Regions from separate parts of the Homo sapiens genome. Here regions 2, 3, 4 and 5 are each linked to region 1. Evidence: promoter capture Hi-C in human tissues and cell types (Jung and others, 2019). All regions are on one chromosome and are shown on one strand. The core of a region is centred on a gene start or on the middle of the fragment in contact, and the rest is flanking DNA. Distances in the headings are between cores, read along the strand shown. Region 1 holds the start of CLPB (ClpB family mitochondrial disaggregase). Region 2 overlaps FOLR1-AS1 (FOLR1 antisense RNA 1). Region 3 has its middle 23 kb from the start of FOLR3. Region 4 overlaps LRTOMT (leucine rich transmembrane and O-methyltransferase domain containing). Region 5 overlaps NUMA1 (nuclear mitotic apparatus protein 1).

The links. Contacts are between HindIII fragments. The study calls those that stand out against the background at their distance.
Region 2: a fragment that was not itself captured here is called in contact with the fragment with the promoter of CLPB in region 1 in 2 of the 25 tissues and cell types used here (adrenal gland and mesenchymal stem cells).
Region 3: a contact is called between a fragment that was not itself captured here and the fragment with the promoter of CLPB in region 1, in 2 of the 25 tissues and cell types used here (dorsolateral prefrontal cortex and lymphoblastoid cells).
Region 4: a contact is called between a fragment that was not itself captured here and the fragment with the promoter of CLPB in region 1, in 1 of the 25 tissues and cell types used here (lymphoblastoid cells).
Region 5: a contact is called between a fragment that was not itself captured here and the fragment with the promoter of CLPB in region 1, in 1 of the 25 tissues and cell types used here (IMR-90 fibroblasts).

The regions. Positions count from the first base shown.
Region 1 is chr11:72,433,197-72,437,403 of GRCh38, forward strand. CLPB (ClpB family mitochondrial disaggregase) reads right to left here and starts at 1,335. Exons shown (of 16, transcript NM_001258392.3): 1 at 876-1,335. The coding sequence starts at 1,278. RefSeq lists enhancers at 957-1,416, 1,480-2,286 and a silencer at 3,698-3,747. The HindIII fragment of the contact is 14,936 bases long and covers 1-4,207 here.
Region 2 is chr11:72,176,524-72,180,214 of GRCh38, forward strand. The region is part of intron 2 of FOLR1-AS1 (FOLR1 antisense RNA 1); the gene reads right to left. It also overlaps the pseudogene FOLR3P1. Among named protein-coding and RNA genes, the nearest start is that of FOLR1, 14 kb to the right of the region's middle. The HindIII fragment of the contact is 8,900 bases long and covers 1-3,691 here.
Region 3 is chr11:72,157,292-72,161,011 of GRCh38, forward strand. It overlaps the pseudogene FOLR1P1. Among named protein-coding and RNA genes, the nearest start is that of FOLR3, 23 kb to the left of the region's middle. The HindIII fragment of the contact is 5,430 bases long and covers 1-3,720 here.
Region 4 is chr11:72,091,102-72,094,816 of GRCh38, forward strand. It overlaps LRTOMT (leucine rich transmembrane and O-methyltransferase domain containing), which reads left to right. Exons shown (of 9, transcript NM_001145310.4): 4 at 2,395-2,600. It overlaps LRRC51 (leucine rich repeat containing 51), which reads left to right. Exons shown (of 6, transcript NM_145309.6): 4 at 2,395-2,600. Among named protein-coding and RNA genes, the nearest start is that of LAMTOR1, 10 kb to the right of the region's middle. RefSeq lists an enhancer at 98-257. The HindIII fragment of the contact is 6,356 bases long and covers 1-3,715 here.
Region 5 is chr11:72,049,667-72,053,572 of GRCh38, forward strand. The region is part of intron 2 of NUMA1 (nuclear mitotic apparatus protein 1); the gene reads right to left. Among named protein-coding and RNA genes, the nearest start is that of MIR3165, 21 kb to the right of the region's middle. The HindIII fragment of the contact is 4,976 bases long and covers 87-3,906 here.

The sequences.
Region 1 (4,207 bases), core at 85-2,584:
CGCTGAACTCCAAAAAGAGTCAAAATAACAGTACTGTAAAAATGTTGGGAAACTATCCTTCACTATATAAATAAAGAAATTGGTCAGACGCGGTGGCTCACGCCTGTAATCCCAGTACTTTGGGAGGCCAAGGCGGGTGGATCAGGAGGTCAAGAGATCGAGACCATCCTGACCAACAACTAAAAATACAAAAATTAGCTGGGTGTGGTGGCCCGCACCTGTAGTCCCAGCTACTTGGGAGGCTAAGGCAGGAGAATAGCTTGAACCCGGGAGGCGGAGGTTGCAGTGGGCCGAGATTGCGCCACTGCACTCCAGCTTGGCGACAGAGCAAGACTCCATCTCAGAAATAAATAAATAAATAAATAAATAAATAAATAAATAAATAAATAAATAAATTGAGGTCAAGCTGGCATTAGAACCGAGTCAGGTTGTTCCTGACTCTGGCACCTTTGGTGGCGGGGGGTAGGGGGGAGCGGTTTGGCAACTTCTCTAAACCATCTGGCGGTTGCCCTTAAAACACCCCATAATTTCCGTTTCCTGGAGATCTCAGGAAAGAGGAATTGGACCAGGCAGAATATGAGAAACATAAGGGGACCATGCTATAATATTAGATGTTTAGTCCAATATCCCCATTGTACAGATGGATAAAATGATGCCCAGAGAGGGGAAGCGGATCTATGGTACGAGATTATACAACTCCGAGGTGATGAGGTCTCTAGGGCAACACCCTGCCCCTGTAACCAGATGATGTCTGAGTCCCTCCAAGACTTAGGCTCTAAGGATCTAAACCTATAAGTACCTCCCACCCTCCTAAGATACGAAGTTAGGACAATCTTCCCGCCTCTCCCTTCCTCAAACCCAGATCTCATAATCACCCTTGTTGGACGGACTCTTGCTGTAGCAATGAACCACCAGCGCTGCGGCCAGGGCGCACATGCCCAGTCCGGCCCTGCTGGGGACCCCGTTCCAGCTGTCCTGTCCTGGGAGTGTTTCTTCGGGACCAGGAAGGCGTCCCCAAGTGGCAGCCGCGAGGCATTTGGTATCGAAGCGTCCTCCCTGGCGCCCCCCGGTGGCTGCCCCACGTCCGGAGAACAAGGCCGGCGATGTTCCAGGGCGCCCCCCGGTGGCTACCCTCAGCCACTGCGGCTCCCCGAGACTCCCAGTAGTCACATTCCGGCCGGAAGCACCTCCATGGCCCCGGAGCGTTGGGGACCTGAGCAGCCGGAGGAGTAGCCGTGGCGCCAGTGCTTTTCTCCTCAACACCAGGGACCCCAGCATCTTGACAGCTGCTTCGATAACCCCGTGGTGCCGGCCCCTGTGCTGACCACGTCCAACATGGCTGCCGCGGCGCGTTCGAAGACGCCGCGAACAGGGTGGAGTTGCGCACTACCTCACGGGAGAGGTAGTCCACAGCCCTAAGCCTTTCCCCAGCTGGAGAATAAATAAACTACGTTTCCCAGAAGGCTGTGGGATTGCGTCACAATGACTGCGGGATTATAGAAGCCCGGGGCATATTGGGAAATAGAGTTCGGGTGAAGGGGCGTGGCGATTAGAGTTAAAGATTAGAATCCCAAGACTTCTTTCCTAGTTTAGTTGAAGCACACGACACACTTTTTTTTTTTTTTTTTTTTTGAGACGGAGTCTCGCTCTGTCTCACAGGCCGGAGTGCCGTGGCGCGATCTCGGCTCACTGCAACCTTCGTCTCCTGTGTTCAAGCAATTCTCCTACCTCAGTCTCCCGAGTAGCTGGGATTACAGGCGCCCGCCACCATGCCCAGCTAATTTTTGTATTTTTAGTGGAAACGGGGTTTCACCACGTTGGCCAGGCTGGTCTCTAACTCCTGACCTCAGGCGATCCGCCCGCCTCGGCCTCCCAAAATGCTGGGGTTACAAGCGTGAGCCACCGCGCCCGGCCCACAATTTTTGACTGGTGTAAATTACCCAAGAATCTTCAGCAGAGGCATATTATGAAACTTATGCTTATTTAGTTTAGCCTATCTCTTTTTTCAGCCTGGGCGGCCTTTCAAAAAGATGTTTAGGGTAACTACTGCACCTGAGATAGGAATACATTTTATTTGAAGAGTTGACTTCCGGTCTTTTTTTTTTTTTTTTTTTTGAGACAGAATCTCACTCTGCCGCCCAAACTGGAGTGCAGTGGCGCCATCTCGGCTCACTGCAACCTCCGTCTCCCTGGTCCAAGCGATTCTCCCACCTCAGCCTACCGAGTAGCTGGGATTACAGGCACGCACCACCACGCTTGGCTAATTTTTGTATTTTTAGTAGTAGAGACGGGGTTTCACCATGTTGGCCAGGCTGGTCTCCAACTCCTGACCTCAAGCGACCCACCTGCCTCAGCCTCCCTAAGTACTGGGATTACTGGCGTGAGCCACTGCGCCTGGCCCTGATTGTGTTATTTTTAAAGGGCTTTCAAGTGGGTCATCTCATCTGATCCTCATGGCAGCTGTGTGTGAGAAGCTGGGCAAGAACTGTTATTCCCGTCTACAGTGAAGGGAATTGAGGCTCAAAGGTGAAAAGATTTGCCAGTAAATCACCTGGAGTAAAGTAATGCTCAGGTCTTCTGATTTTGAGCATATAGTTTCCATTAACACCTGCACTCCCATCCCGCCCCCTCTTTTCCAAACTGAACCCATAGGTAGGCAAAGGAGGAAGTTCTTCTTTGTGCCAGTTCTGTTTCTTCCAAGTCTTGTACGTCTGCTCAGACTTCACATGATCAGAGTCTTCCCTGACCATTCTGGTTAAAATAGTAATCCTACGCACCCCATCCTAATTTTCCTTCACAGCATTTATCACCATCTGACATACTACATTTTTATTGTCTTTCTCCACTACAGCATGAGCCCCATGAGACAAGGACTTTGTTTTTTCACTTTTATATCACTAGCACTCAGAACAATGTCTGGAACAAAAGAGGCACTCAGTTTTTTTATTTTTATGTATTTATTTATTTATTGAAGCAGAGTCTTGCTCTGTCGCCCAGGCTGCAGTGCAGTGGCACGATCTCAGCTCACTGCAAGCTCAGCCTCCTGTGTTCACGCCATTCTTCTGCCTCAGCCTCCCGAGTAGCTGGGACTACAGGCTCCCGCCACCATGCTCGGCTAATTTTTTTGTATTTTTAGTAGAGACGGGGTTTCACTGTATTAGTCAGGATGGTCTCGATCTCCTGACCTCGTGATCCACCTGCCTCGGCCTCCTAAAGTGCTGGGATTACAGGTGTGAGCCACCGCGCCCGGCCTGAGGCACTCAAATATTTTTTTCAGTGAATGGATTACTCTCACCTTATTAGTGTTGGAGAGTACTTGAGCTTTGGCATTCAGGCAGACGTGGATTTTAATTTTGACTCTTGCATTTATATGGGTGACCTTGGACAAACTCCCTTTACCTCTCTGGTAGTTAATTACTCATTGTTGAAGATATCAATTCCTGCCTTCAAGATGATTGCTTGTATTAAATAAGATAATATGTAGAAAGCCCCTAACACTGTCCCTGGCTCACAGTAGGTCTTCAAGAAATGGTAGCTATCATTGTATATTCTCTGCTCTGTGTATTCTACACTTCCTCCAGGCAAAGATGGAACTTCTCATTTCCACATCCGTTAGTAAGACAGGAATGAATGAGCGACTTTTTTGGTTTTTTTTGAGACAGGGTCACGCTCTGTTACACAGGCTGGAGTACAGTTGTTACTGCAACCTGAAACCTCCTGGGCTCAAGGGATCATCCCACCACCTCAGCCTCCTGAGTAGCTGGGACCACAGCTGGCACCACTACACCTAGCTAATTTTTTGTTATTATTATTATTATTATTATTTGGGTAGAGACTAGGTCTCGCTATGATGCCCAAGCTGGTCTGAACTCCTGGGCTCAAGCAGTCCTCCTGCCTCAGCCTCCTAAAGTGCTGGGATTACAGGCGTGAGCCACTGCGCCTGGCTTTAATAACTTTTTTTTTTTTTTGAGATGGAGTTTTGCTCTTGTTGCCCAGGCTGGAGTGCAATGGCGCGATCTTGACTCACCGCAACCTCCGCCTCCCAGGTTCAAGCGCTTTTCTTGCCTCAGCCTCCCGAGTAGCTAGGATTACAGGCATGTGTCACCACACCTGGCTAATTTTTTTTGTATTTTTAGTAGAGACGGGGTTTTACATGTTGGTCAGGCTGGTCTCAAACTCCCAACCTCAGATGATCCACCTGCCTTGG
Region 2 (3,691 bases), core at 446-2,945, 260 kb before region 1:
GTGAGCTATAATTGCACCACAGCACTCCAGCATGTGCAACAGAGAGAGACCTGTCTCAAATAAATAAATAAATAAGGGAAAAATGCACCAATATTGTAATTGCCTGTGTTCCCAGGTGGGGACTCCTCAAGGGCCCTCCCTAGGAAGTGTTCCTCTGGATGACCTACCTGGGGCAGAGGAGCCAGAATATGGGGGAGATGGCTGCGGTGGTGAGGGACTTAGTCCTGTGTCTTCCCCACCCAGTGCAGTCCCTAGAAGAAGAATGCCTGCTGCATGACCAACACCAGCCAGGAGCTGCACAAGGACACCTCCCGCCTGTACAACTTTAACTGGGATCACTGTGGTAAGATGGAGCCTGCCTGCAAGCGCCACTTTATCCAGGACACCGGTCTCTATGAGTGCTCACCCAACCTCGGGCCCTGGATCTGGCAGGTATGAGTGCCATTCCCACAAACATGAACCTCATAGCTGGGTGCATTGGCTTATGCCTGTAATCCCAGCACTTTGGGAGGCCAAGGCAGGTGGATTACCTGAGGTCAGGAGTTCGAGACCAGCCTGGCCAACATGATGAAACCCTGTCTCTACTAGAATACAAAAATTAGCCGGGCATGGCGGTGGGAGCCTGTAATCCCAGCTACTCAGGAGGCTGAGGCAGGAGAATCGCTTGAACCTGGGAGGTGGAGGTTGTAGTGAACCGAGATTGTGCCACTGCACTCCAGCCTGAGCAACAGTGCGAGACTTTGTCTCAAAAATAAAACAACAACAACAAAAACAACACAAAACATTAATCTCAGCAGAGGGCACAACCTGCCAGCCACTTGCAGAGAGGGCTTGGTCCAGGAATTTGGGTCTGAGGGTGGTGGACGCCCTGCCCCCTCCCACAGCTCTGGTCTCCTTCAAGGGTAAAGCGGCTGAGATACGTGGCTGACAGGAGTGTTCCGTCTCCTCCCCACTCAGGTCAACCAGAGCTGGCGCAAAGAGCGCATTCTGAACGTGCCCCTGTGCAAAGAGGACTGTGAGCGCTGGTGGGAGGACTGTCGCACCTCCTACACCTGCAAAAGCAACTGGCACAAAGGCTGGAATTGGACCTCAGGTGAGGGACGGAGGAGATGAGGTGAGGAGTGGGAGTGGGGCTTTGGGGTTGGGAGGGGTGTGGTCTGGCCCAGAAGCTAAGGGTCTTACATTCTCCTCCCTCAGGGATTAATGAGTGTCCGGCCTGGGCCCTCTGCCACACCTTTGAGCCCTACTTCCCCACTCCAGCTGCCCTTTGTGAAGGCCTCTGGAGCCATTCCTTCAAGGTCAGCAACTACAACTACAGCTGAGGGAGTGGCCGCTGCATCTAGATGTGGTTTGACTCAGCCCAGGGCAACCCCAGTGAGGAGGTGGCCAAGTTCTATGCTGCGGCCATGAATGCTGGGGCCCCGTCCCATGGGACTGGGGCCGTGGACATTGGTTCCTGATCCAAGAAGGGTCCCCTGGGGTTCTTCCGACAACCTATCCTAATAGACAAATCCACATGTGTCTTGTGTCTTGTAATCTGGGGACAAGTGGGTTGGAGTGACACATTGCTTCATCTTTCCTATTGATAGTCCCCGAATCAGGCTGGAACTGGCTTGACATTCACTGGGAAGTAGGCTGTGGAGGTTGAGCCAGAATCTAGGTATCTATCTATCCCTCAGCCTGGTTCTCCTGAGACCCTCCCGCTCACACAAAGCTCATTACCCCCACACTATACACGGACAAAAGCGCAGGTGGAAGGAAGATGGGCAGAAACAGGAGATGAGTTATTGGGCTTCAGGTGGGGAAGACAGTTTATTTCCTCTTCCCTCACTAGATGTGGGCTGGGAGGAGATACTGTTTGGAGAGGAGGGTCTCAATGATAAACACCTGCCTTGTTTTTATTTGTTTGAGACTGGGGTCTTGCTATGTTGCCCAGGCTAGTCTTGAACTCCTGGGCCCCAGCGATCTTCATTCCTTGGCCTCCCAATGTGCTGGGATTATTGCAGTAGGTCATTGTGCCTGACCTACTTTTTTTTTTTTTTTTTTTTTTTTTGAGACGGAGTCTTGCTCTGTCACCCAGGCTGGAGTGCAGTGGTGTGATCTCGGCTCACTGCAGCCTCTGCCTCCCATGTTCCAGCGATTCTCCTGCCTCAGCCTCCTGGGTAGCTGGGATTACAGGCACACACCACCACGCCTGGCTAAATTTTGTATTTTTAGTAGAGATGGGGTTTCACCATGTTGGCCAGGCTGGTCTCGAACTCCTGACCTCAGGTGATCCACCCACCTTGGCCTCCAAAAGTGCTGGGATTACAGGCATGAGCCACCGAGCCTGGCCTGACCTACTTTTTAATAAATGACAAGTAATGCTGCAATTAACAGTCTTGTACCAGCTGTTACAAGATTGTAACACTGAGCACCTTGAGCTCAGTGGCTCACGACTGCAATCCCAGCACTTTGGGAGGCCAAGGTGGGTGGATCACCTGAGGTCAGGAATGTCAGACCAGCCTAGCCAACATGGTGAAACCCCATCTCTACTAAAATATACAAAAATTAGCCAGGTGTGATGGCACATGCCTGTAATCCCAGCTACTCAGGAGGCTGAGGCAGGAGAATCGCTTGAACACAGGAGGCAGAGGTTGCAGTGAGCTGGGATCATACCACTGCACTCCGGCCTGGGCTACAAGAGTGAAACTCCGTCACAAAACAAACAAACAAAAAATCTTGTACCTAGTGGAATGTTATACTGAATTCCAGAAAGGGTTATTGGGTCAAGAGTATGTATAATTTTGATAGTTACAACTTTATAGAGATTTTATCAATGTGGCTCCTCCACCAGCAAAGCATGAGAGTGCCTGTTTCTCCGCTGGGTGTGTGAGAGCTCACACCTGTGATCCAGCACTTTGAGATTCTGAGGCAGGAGAATCTCTCGACCCCAGGAGCTCAAGATCAGCCTGGGCAACATGGTGAAACCCCATCTCTACAAAAAACTAAAAAAATCAGCTGGGCATGGTGGTGTGTGCCTATAGTCCCAACTACCAGGGAAGCTGAGGTGAGAGAATCACTTGAGCCCTGAGAGGTTGAGGCTACAATGAGCTGTGATTGTGCCACTGCACTCCAGCCTGTGCGACAGAGCGAGACCTTGTCTCAAAAAAAAAAAAAAAAAAACAGAGAGAGAGAGTGCCTGTTTCTCCACAACCTTGTCAACACAGTATGCCATCAAACTTTGGTTTTCTGCTCATCTTACAGGTGGGGAAAAGGGCAGCTCAGTCCAGTTTTCATCTGCCATTGTTCTGAGATCTTTCCATGTTGACCTATTGAGATGTTAAATTACTAGGTAATAATCCATTCTATGTGTACATCACACTGAATTCAGTCACATACTGATGGGCATTGGAAGGAATGGGGTTCTTTTATGATCTTGACATTGCTGAAAGCCACAGGCCAGTTATTTGGTAGAATACTGCTCCATTTGGGTTTGTTTCCTCATGATTCACTGAGGTTACACATTTTGGGCACGAATACCCTACACAGTTATTCCATGCATCGTAACAGGAGGCACGTGGTGAGGGGTTTGCCCATTCCTGGTGAGGTTAACTTTGATCTTTTGGTTGAGATCATGTCTCCCAGGTTTCTCCACTACACTTTCCCCTTTGTAAGTAATAAATATGTTGTAGGGAGAGACTGGGGACTA
Region 3 (3,720 bases), core at 455-2,954, 280 kb before region 1:
GCCTTGGAACAATTGTCTCTGGGCATGGGTGGGGAGGGTGTGACTGAAGTTCCATACTCATGCCTTTCTGGGCCTGATAAATTGGGCATGTCTCACATCATGAGACTGCTCTGAGCTATTTTTCTTTTCTCAAGCTTTATACCAAATTCTAGGCCGTGGGCTTTCATTCATTCAATAAGTATGTATTGAGTGTTTATGTAATCGGAACTCTTCTGGGGTTACAATTTAACTTACTTTCTCACCTCCGAATGGTTATCACCTCAACGAGGACTAAATCCAATGATTTTTTTTTATCTTGCCAAAATTCCTATCTAAGGGGTCTGGGGAGTCATGCCCTACAAATCATAAATTCTCATCAGATGGGTTTTATTTAACCCTATATATCATGACTTACTTTCCAACCTGACTCTGGCATAACATGACGAGACAAGGAAGAAAAGCAAAATATTTTAATATTTTTACCTCAAAACATGTTTCTTTGCCATATCTTGAAATGGCCCTGCTACTGTCCTTTGTGGGGGAAAATTTTCATCTGTAAAGAATCTCTATTAACATAGCTGGATCTTTTTCTACCAGGCCCTTCCAATCATAAAGAGATTAACTAAGTGTAGCACCTTTTATAGATCTGAATAGGAAACACTTGTCATCTGTTGTTTCTAAGGGCAGCCACTATAAGACTTCAAAAGAACCTTGGTCTCCACAGTCTTTTATCTTAACATTTCTTTTCTATCAACCCCAGGTCTTTAGACAAACTCAACCAATTGTCAACCATAAAATGTTTAAATTTACGTATAGCCTGAAAGCCCTGCCACCCCACTTTGAATTGTCCCACCTTCCTGGACCAAACCAATGATTTTTTTTTTTTTTTTTAGATGGAGTCTCCCTCTGCCGCCCGTGCTGGAGTGCAGTGGTGTGATCTCGGCTCGCTGCAACCTCCGCCTCCTGGGTTGAAGCAATTCTCCTACCTCAGCCTCCTGAGTAGCTAGGATTACAGGTGCCTGTCACCACGTCCAGCTAATTTTTTGTATTTTTAGTAGAGACAGGGTTTCACTATGTTGGCCAGGCTGGTCTCAAACTCCTGACCTCAAGATCAGCCTGCCTTGGCCTCCCAAAGTGCTGGGATTACAGGCGTGAGCCACCGTGCCTGGCCAATGTATTCCTTAAATGCATTTGATTGATGTCTCATGCTTCCCTAAAATGTATGAGACATCCTTCTCCCCTGATTGTTTTCAAAAGCAGTGATCCATTGAGGTGCTCATTTTTGTAACCCCAGTTACTAGAAAAGTGCCTGGGTAAGAGTATGTAGGATCTCTATAAAAGCTGAATTAACGAATTTTGTAATGACTGCACCTCCAGACAGGAGCTGTCTTCCGGGCTTCCACAGTCTCTGACAGCCCTCTCCCACAAAGAGTTTACCAACAGCAAGGACTTTCCTGGATGACTTCCACTGGGTTGGGGATTAAGGATTGAAAGGGGAGAGGCTGGGTGTGGAATATTCTGGCTGTGCTGGCTGTGGACTTAGTCCTGTGTCTTCCCGCATCCAGTGTAGTCTCTGGAGAAAGAATGCCTGAGCTTTACCAGCACCACCCAGGAAGCCCATAAGAATATTCCCATCTATATGGATTCAACTGGAACCACTGTGGAGAGATGGTACCTGCCTGCAAACGGCACTTTATCCAGGACACCTGCCTTTACGAGTGACCCCCCAACTTGGGGCCCTGGATCCAGCAGGTACGCATGGCTTCCTGGCATCCAAGAGCTAGCAGAGGAGCTGAATTTTCCAGGCGTCTCTGCAGGCAGCAACCCCAGCTCCAGTTCTATTCAGGGCTGGGTTCCTGGGATTCTTGAGCCTGAGCCCTTCTTTTCTACCAAAATCTCCCAGGTGGATCAGAGCTGGCGCAAAGAGTGGGTGCTGAATGTGCCCCTGTGCAAAGAGGACTGTGAGCAATGGTGGGAAGATTGTCGCACCTCCTACACCTGCAAGAGCAATGGGCACAAGGGCTGGAACTGGACCTCAGGTGAGGGCTGGGGTGGGCAGGAAAGGAGGGATTTGGAAGTGAAGGTGTGTGGGTGTGGAACAGGTGTGTGACATTTTGGGGTTGTAGGGCTGGCAGAATCAGAGACCCTTTGGGGCCCAGTGGCTAAAGGTCTTCCCTCTTCCCTACAGGGTCTAACAAGTGCCAGGTGGCAGCTGCCTGACTACCTTTCCATCTCTACTTTCTCACACCCACTGCTCTGTGCAGTGAAATCTGGACTCACTCCTACAGGGTCAGCAACTACAACCGAGGGAGCAGCCGCTGCATCCAGATGTGGTTCGACCTGGCCCAGGGCAACCCCAATGAGGAGGTGGCAAGGTTCTATGCTGCAGCTCTGAGTGGGGCTGGGCCCTGGGCAGCCTGGCCTCTCCTGCTCAACCTGGCCCTAATGCTGCTGTGGCTGCTCAGCTGACCTCCTTTTACCTTCTGATACTTGGACATCCCTGCCCTGTTTAGCCCCACAGCTCCCAACTATTTGGTTCCTCTTCTATGGTCTTGTCTCTGACAGCCACTTTGAATAAACCAGACACCACACATGTATCTTGAGAATTATTTGGGTATGAATGGGAATGTGGCTGTTTTGTTTCCCATTTCTTATTGATTGAAGCCAGTTAGACTGGGCTAGTTCCCAGCTCTGATGCTTGCTATGAACTAGCCTGATACTTAAGTATTCTTCTAAGGTAGGAGACATTTGTAGCTCTCGATTTTATTATTCACTATAGCTCCAATTTAGAGCCAAGCCCAGGCATTTTTCTTTTTTTGAGACAGGGTCTCACTCTCTCACCCAGGTTGGAATGGAGTGGCATGATCTCAGCTCACTGCAACGTCTGCCTCGTGGGCTCAAGTGATCCTCCCACCTCAGCATCCCAAATACTTGGGACTACAAGCATGTGCCACCACACCTGGCTAATTTTTCAATTTTTTGTAGAGAGGAAATCTTGCAATGTTGTCCAGGCTGGTCTCAAACTACTGGGCTCAAGCAATCCTCCTACCTCAGCCTCCTGAGTAGCTGGGTCTACAGGTGTGAGCCTCCACATTCAGCTAATACATATAATATAAAACATGTATTATATATGTAATAGTAGAGACAGGGTCTCACTATTTTACCCAGGTTGTTCTCAAACTCCTGCGCTGGAGTGATCCTCCCAAAATGCTGGGATTACAGGCATGAGTCACTGCATCTGGCCACAAGTCATGTTTATTTCTTGCTCAAGCTACAATGCTGAATGTGGGTTATCAGGGGGATTCTGTTTATTTCTCATTCCTGGACTACATTAGCAGCCAGGGGGTTCTGCTTCTCACTCAAGAACCCACGCTGATGGAGGCTCCATCTTCCATGAGACAGGAAGAGGGAACTTGGCAAATTCCATAAGGCTCTTCAAATTTCCACCCATCACTTATTTCATTGGCCAAATCAAGTCATGAGCATGCCTAAATTCAAGAAAGCCAGGAAAACATAATCCTATCATGTACTTGCAAGGAGAGGGGAATCACAAGGTTTGCAACAGACCTAATCATGAGTAAAAAGACTTCATTATTTTCTCGTAGATTTCTGTTTCTGGCATGGTCATAGTTACAAATTTAATTTTTTGGTTAGATCCTAGTAAGAAGGAGGACCAACTCTCTATACATATGCAAATAACTACATCAACCTGAAAAGTGGAGCAATCCACTGATGACCGCC
Region 4 (3,715 bases), core at 1,107-3,606, 340 kb before region 1:
ACTCCATCCTTGGTAAGAGCAGCTCCAGCCAGCATCAAGTTTTAGGCAACTCTGTCCCACCAGTGATTCCCTCTGAGCTTGGCCTCCACCCCATGCTTGGTGGCATTCCCCAAGCTGCTACCTTATCACATGGGGCACTAGTTCATGTGGGGTTATTTTGACCTTAATTTTGATTCATCTGTGTCATTCTGTTTCAGGGTTCTAAGGAGGTATGGGGAGGGAAGCAGGATTAGGAATTCATGAGCTGGGGTACGCCGTTCCAGTACCCTCCTGCAACCCCAGGCCCCAATTGTGGGTCCTGCTCACTCTAGGATTAAGGCAGAGAGCCATCTGGTGGATGTTGCCTGACCTGCATCTGAGGAGGAGGAGAGGTGGGGGTGGAAGGGCAAAGGGTGTCCTTCCAGTAGAGAGCAGAAGAGAGTGAAGAAAGCTGGCTAGCTTCCGCAAATACTAAATACTTCCTTCCCCAGGGGTGAACTAGGGAACCAAAGGCTTAGCAGCAATGGGAACTGGACCTCATTTTGAAAAAGTGGGAGTGAGGCTTTGGGGTGTTCCATACACCGGGGTTCTAACATAATCCTATTCCCTATTCTCTCTCCTCCTCAGCCAAACTTTCTGAGGATGTTGTTTATGCTAACTGCTTATATCCATTCACTCTTTTTTTGGTAGAGACGGGGTTTCATGATGTTGCCCAGGCTGGTCTCAAACGCCTAGGCTCAAGCAATCCTCCTGTCTTGGCCTCCCAAAGTGCTGGGATTACAGGCATGAAACCAGCCTCCATTCACTCTTGAACTCACTCACTTCAATCTGGCTTCTGCCTCCAGGCCCTTGCCATTCCACTGAAGCAGCCCTTACCAAGGTTACCAGGGACTTCTAAGTTGCCAAAATTACTTTTCAGTCCTTACCTCCCTGGAACTTACTACTATAAACTATTTACTCCCTGAACATCTTTAAACTGTCCTCTCCTGATTTTCCCTGATCATTTAACTTCTCTAATGGATTCTTCTTCCTCCCTGACCTTCCTCCCTACCCTCACTCTCCCTGAGGAATCTCATCTCTTTCCCTAACTTGTATGCCTTCTATGCTAATGATTCTCAAGTCTGTGTCTCCTGAGCTTCCGACCTTCATCTCCAACTGCCTACTTGACTTCTCCACCTTTTTGTACAGGAACCTCAAATACACCAAAGCTAAGCCTGAACTCATCACATTCCCAATGCTATTTCTTCTTCTGTAATTCCTTACCAGTTAATACAACTGGCAACCACCCTTTAATATTCTTCTACCTTTACATCCAGTCAACCAAATTATGTTGATTGTAGGGCCCTCTCATGTCTTGCTTGGATGACTCAAACAGCCAAATTGGTCATTTGGTCCAACTCACTCCCTAAAATCCATATTCCACACTGACACTTAAGAGTGATCTTTCTGAAATAAAAGATTTGAATCATTTGCTTTAAACACTCCAGTGCCTTCCCATTACACACAGGGTAAAGCCCAAGATCCTTAGCCTGACATTTGAGACTTTTGACTGGATTCCTGCCTCCTTTTCCTCTCTGTCCCCCTTGTGCAGTGCGTGCAAGCACTTGTGCAGGCACACAAACCCGCCCCAGACTCCCTGGCTGTTCTGTACCTCTATACCTTTCTTCATGCTGTTCCCTGCCTGTTTACCCTTCTTTGCCTGATAAACATCCCCTAATCCATGGAGATTCAGCTCAGGCTTCACCTTCCCTGGGAAACTTCCCTGAGCTCCCATACTGGGTCAATAGCCTCTCTTCTGTGCTGCTACAACTATTATATAGCACTTATCACACCATGTTGCCAGCTTGCTCCCATCTTGCCCATATAAGCTCCTCCAAGGCACAAATGTCTGCTCTCTGCCCTATTATTCATACAAAGTCTGGAACAGACTGTCTCTCATTTTGTTTATCACTGTATATCCAGTACCTGGCATACTGTAGGTACTCAACATTCATGGAAAGAGAGACAGGATATCAAAGTGTATTCCACTGAAGTGAATTCTATAGGCTTTACCAGTAGTTAATTCAGGATTTTGTGCTATCATCTACTCAGCTCAAGCCCAACAATTCTGGTTCTTAGTTTTCCTCAACCCCACACTGGTTTGGTATAAAAAAGACCCAGTGGTACAGTGGACATGAGAAGTCCATGTGACCTGGAAAGCCAAGAGCTTGAGATAGAAGTCTCTGGCCCTTAGTCTAAACTTACTGATTGCTGGAAGCTGTGGGACAGGGTTGCACTAGACTCAGGCACAGGGCTATGGCCCTTCCAGACCCTCCAGCTACAGCCTGGATGGCTAATCTTTCCAGCTCTGTCCCTTCCCACCCCCTAAAGCCAAAAAAGCAAAGATGATACCCAAGTCTCACTTTGTCCCCACAGATCTGGTAAATGAGGAGCCAAGGACAGGACTACGACCACTGAAGCGTTCAAAGTCGGGGAAATCACTGACCCAGTCCCTGTGGCTGAATAACAATGTTCTCAATGATCTGAGAGACTTCAACCAGGTGGCTTCACAGCTGTTGGAGCACCCAGAGAACCTGGCCTGGATCGACCTGTCCTTTAATGACCTGACTTCCATTGACCCTGTGAGTTCCTAACAGTAGGAATCCAGTCAGGGGAGCCTGAAGCCACTTTGTTCAGCCCCCAACCTCTCCACTCCTACATGTTATCAAGGAAGTAATGAGGCAGCATGGTACAGTCCAAAGCACAAGGCTAGGGGGCCAGACAGATAGATGTAGGTTCAAATCCTGGGTTTGCCTCTTACTGACTGTGACTTTGAGCAAGCTACCTAACCTCTCAAAACTGCAGCCTCCCTGTCGGAAAAATGGGGATAATATGCCAGTATCATAAAGGTTTTGTGAGGATTGAATGAAAATACATGAAAACCACCGGGCACAGCGGCTCACGCCTGTAATCCCAGCACTTTGGGAGGCCGAGGTGGGTGGATCACAAGGTCAAGAGAGATCAAGACCATCCTGGCCAACATGGTGAAACCCCGCCTCTACTAAAAATACAAAAAATTAGCTGGGCGTGGTGGCGGGCGCCTGTAGTCCCAGCTACTCGGGAGGCTGAGGCAGGAGAATCACTTGAACCCAGGAGGCAGAGGTTGCAGTGAGCCGAGATTGCGCCACTGTACTCCAGCCTGGCAACAGAGTGAGACTCCGTCTCAAAAAAAAAAAAAAAGAAAAGAAAATACATGAAAACCAACAAACAACTGGTACATCAGAGGCTGAAGTAAAATTCTAACTGTCACTGCGCACCCACTGTGACCTGTGCTGGGTTCTCCTGTGGAAGAGGTAGTCAATAAAGTACAGCACTTACTTTCTGTGAACTCAGATTCAAGTTTTAAGAAATAAAGTTTGGCCTTTTCTAGTCCAAGATCCCTAAGAGGGGAAAGGAGCTGGAGCATGACTTGGACACTATTCCCCTGGTGTGGTGATCTCAATTTAACCAGTATTTTAAAAGCTTCTTATGTGCCTAGCATGATGCTCTGTCTTCCTGTTGCTTGCTGTGATAGAATCGTAGATCACCAAAGCTGGAAAGGTCTTCAGTGAAGGGGCAACTAAGGCTGAGAGAGGCAAGTCAGTGGCAGTGCTGGTACCCAGGCCCACACTCCTGACCCTCAGATCACAGCTCCTTTTCAGTGTGATGCCCTGTATGTCTTAAAACATAAATAAAAGTAGGTTACAGTCATACAGTA
Region 5 (3,906 bases), core at 1,325-3,824, 380 kb before region 1:
AGAAAATTGGCTAGGCATGGCGGTTATGTGTCTGTAGTCCTGGCAACTTGGGAGGCTGAGGTGGGAGGATCACTTGAGCCCAGGAGTTTGGGGTTACAGTGAGCTATGATCATGCCACTGCACTCTAGCCTGGGCAACAGAGTGAGACCCTGTCTCTAAAAAAATAAAATAAAGTACCTTTCCACTTCCAAAAATTCCCATGATTCTTTCCACAGGATACCATTCTCAACAACAAATCTTGTAGTAGAACTTGTCTCCTCAGAATCTGGTCAAAACATCACTAGTTAGGGTGTTCTTTCAAAAAAAATAGCAAATCTCCTAGAAACAGGCACATTGTGTGTTACCCTATTAGGACCCATCCCCAAAGCGAGGCACATGTGGGTGCTTCATTAATACTCTGTTGAAAGGAGGAGGTCCTTGGAAACTGGTAGTACCAACTTAGCATGGCATACAATGAAAGGTGATTGGAGCCACACTCGAGGAACTACAAGGCAGCTTTTCATAAATAAAAGCCACAAAATGCAATTTATAACTACATCTGTCTAAACAGACTAAAGAAAAGTAGCTTTCTATACCTAGGTCTTCACCCCTTCTCCTCCCCACCTCTCTACTTTATCATCCCTGTCCTACACAGCACTGAGACCCGTCTTTCTGGTTCCAGGTCCACTTTTCCTTTTTCCACACCAGAATGCCTTTAATCACTGATAGAAATGAACAAACATGAATATGAGTTCTAAACAGGAAGACAGATAGCCTCAAGAACCAACTTGTCAATATGTTACTAATAAGTGAAATAAGTGGGAATGGTGTCTAACATGGGCATGATAAAATAAAACCCTAAAATACATACTGTGCTAGGGATTTGAACAAACTTCAGGATTTTTAAGGAAGGCTGTGTCTCACATCTCAATTAATCTTCCCAAAAGAACCCTAAGAGGCAAGGTTTATTCCAATTTTATAAATTAGGAACGTAAGGCTCAGTAAAAAGAAAATACCTGCCTCAAGGTCGACTGGTAAGGCTGCAGAGCCAGAACTCAAAGAGATGTCTTCTAAATCCAGTGCTCTCTCCAGCACATCTCAGCTACATCCTCTATCTTTCTCATCAGTATAGGTCTTCATGTATACAAAGCATTTCTGCATTCATTGTTCACACTGCTTCTGCCACAGCTCATGAAAAGGACAATGCAGATGTCTAAATGGCACCAGATCTATACCCACCTTTTTTTTTTTTTTTTTTTTGAGACAGGGTCTTGCTCTGTCACCCAGGCTGGAGTGCAGTGGCATAATCATAGCTCGCTGCAACCTCAAACTTCTGGGCTCAAGTGATCCTCCCGCCTCAGCCTTACAAGTAGCTGCTGCTACAACAGGCACGCGCCACCACGCCTGGCTATTTTTAATTTTTAGTAGCGATGAAGTCTCGCTATGTTGCCTAGGCTGGTCTCAAACACCTGGGCTCAAGCGATCTGCCTGCATTGACCTCCCAAAGTGTTGGAATTAAACGGTGTGAGCCACCGTGCTGTCCTATCCACACTTTTAAAGATGCTAATAAATAACGTGATCACCATCAGAGAAAATAAATCCTACGTATCTGGCATCACTGAGAAGTACAAAATTTCACACAAGCAATTTTCCTACTAACTGAAATTTATCCCTTTTAAGGCAAAGCTCTTTCTTTATATCAAAACATATTCTCCAAAATACATAAGATATGTTACTCTTTACTTAGAATTAATGAAATTTAATCAGGGATATTCGACTATAAACATGATATAAACATCCTACATACTGTGCTAGGAATTCAAAGATTTTTTTTTTTTTTTTTGAGACAAGGTCTCACTCTGCTGCCCAGGCTGGAGTGCAGTGGTGCAATCTCAGCTCACTGCAACCTCCACCTCCCAGGCTCAAGTGATCCTCCCTACCTCAGCCTCCCAAGTAGCTGGGGCTACCGGTGTGCAGGACCATGCCCAGCTAGTTTTGTACTTTTTGTAGAGATGGAGTTTTGCCATTTGCCCAAGCTGGTCTCAAACTCTTGAGCTCAAGCGATCAGCCCACCTTGGCCTCCCAAAGTGCTGGGATTACAAGTGTGAGCCACTGTGCCTGGCCCAAGGGTAAATCTTTAAACTTGAGTTTATAATCTTGTAGAGGAAGAGACACATCTGTAACCATAATATGAAGCCAAAGAACATGGGCTTGGGGTGTGCTGAAAGGAAGGTAAGATAACACAAGCAAGGCTAGTGGGGACCAACAACCCAGGGTGACTTACTGAAGAGAAGTGGGAGGCACTGAAAAGTCCTGGGCAGGAGAATGGTATACTACTTGTGCTTTTTGAAAAGATGACTCTAGCACAACAGTGAGGCCAGAGGCAGAAAATGGACTTAGGTGGCAGCGACAGAGGTAGAGAGAAAACTGCACTGCCAGGGCAGGGGCAGTAGGAACTAAAACAGGTGGCTCTGAAAGGCATTACAGACGTAGAGACAATGCTCTTAGCATATAGGGGCGTGGGAAAGGTGGGGAGCTAAAGAGAACACTAAGATTCTTGCTTTCATGGAAAGATTTCAGAACGAGAAAATAAGAGTAGGTACTGGTTTAAAGGAGCGTGAGGGACTAACTCAGGATGGGATGATGGGGAATGCTTTATAGAGGAAGTGACATTTAAGCTAGATATTAAAATATGAGCAGGATAAGTAGAGTTTCACCAAAAAGTAAAAAAGCATTCTAGGCAGAGAAAACAGCACATGCAAAGACAGACCATATTACAGTTGAACAATGGCATGCAGTTTTAGGGAGGTGCATCAGATGATAAGAAGGGTAATAAGTAAGGCCAGGGGCGGTGGCTCACGCCTGTAATCCCAGCACTTTGGGAGGCCAAGGCAGGTGGATCATGAGGTCAGGAGATTGAGACCATCCTGGCCAACATGGTGAAACCCCGTCTCTACTAAAAACACAAAAATTAGCTGGGTGTGGTCACATGCCTGTAATCCCAGCTACTCAGGAGGCTGAGGCAGGAGAATCATTTGAACCCAGGAGGTGGAGGTTGCAGTGAGCCGAGATCATGCCACTGCACTCCAGTCTGGTGTGCTCCAGTCAGAGCAAGACTCCATCTCAAAAAAAAAAACAAGGGTAAGTAATATTAAATTGTGAGGCACTTGCCTCATACTAAGAAATTGTAGGTGATGAGAAGACAATCAAGGTTTCTAAAGGAAGAGGGTAAAGGGGAGCAGCATGATCAGGGCTATGTTTCAGAAGGGAAACTGTATAAAGTACAGACTGGAATGGTAAGACACAGGAGGAAGGCAATAGAGCATAATGGCTAAGATTACAAGGTCTGAACTTAAGACAACCTAATACAAATTCTGGGTTTATAGCTTAATAGCTCTGCAACCTTGGGCAAGTTATTTACTCTCTCTGTGCCCTCATTTTCCCCAGCTGTAAAATGGGAATAATAATAGTACTTTATCAGGCACAAGCCACCACACCTGGCTATTTTATTTTTAATTTTTGTAGAGACAGGATCTTGCTATGTTGTCCAAGCTGGTCTCGAACTCCTCAACTAAAGTGAAGCTCCCACCTTGTCCTCCCAGAGCACTGGGATAACAGGTATGAGCCACTGTGCCCAGCCCATAGTTCCTAATTACGCCTTTTTGTATTTTATTAATTTATCTTTCTCTTACTGCCTTAAGTTCCATGAAATCACAAACTGTGTGCTCACCGCTGAATTCTTAGAAATCAGCACAATGGCTGGCACAGCATGAGTGCTTGATAAATACTTCTTGAATGAATGAAAGGTTCCAAACTATATATTTTAAATGAACTCTATTTAAATGTAACCTTTATATAGAACCCCAGGACACACAGAAGAAGACAGTTTGAAGTAAGGGATATTTGGAGACTTGTTCCCTCTGCTTC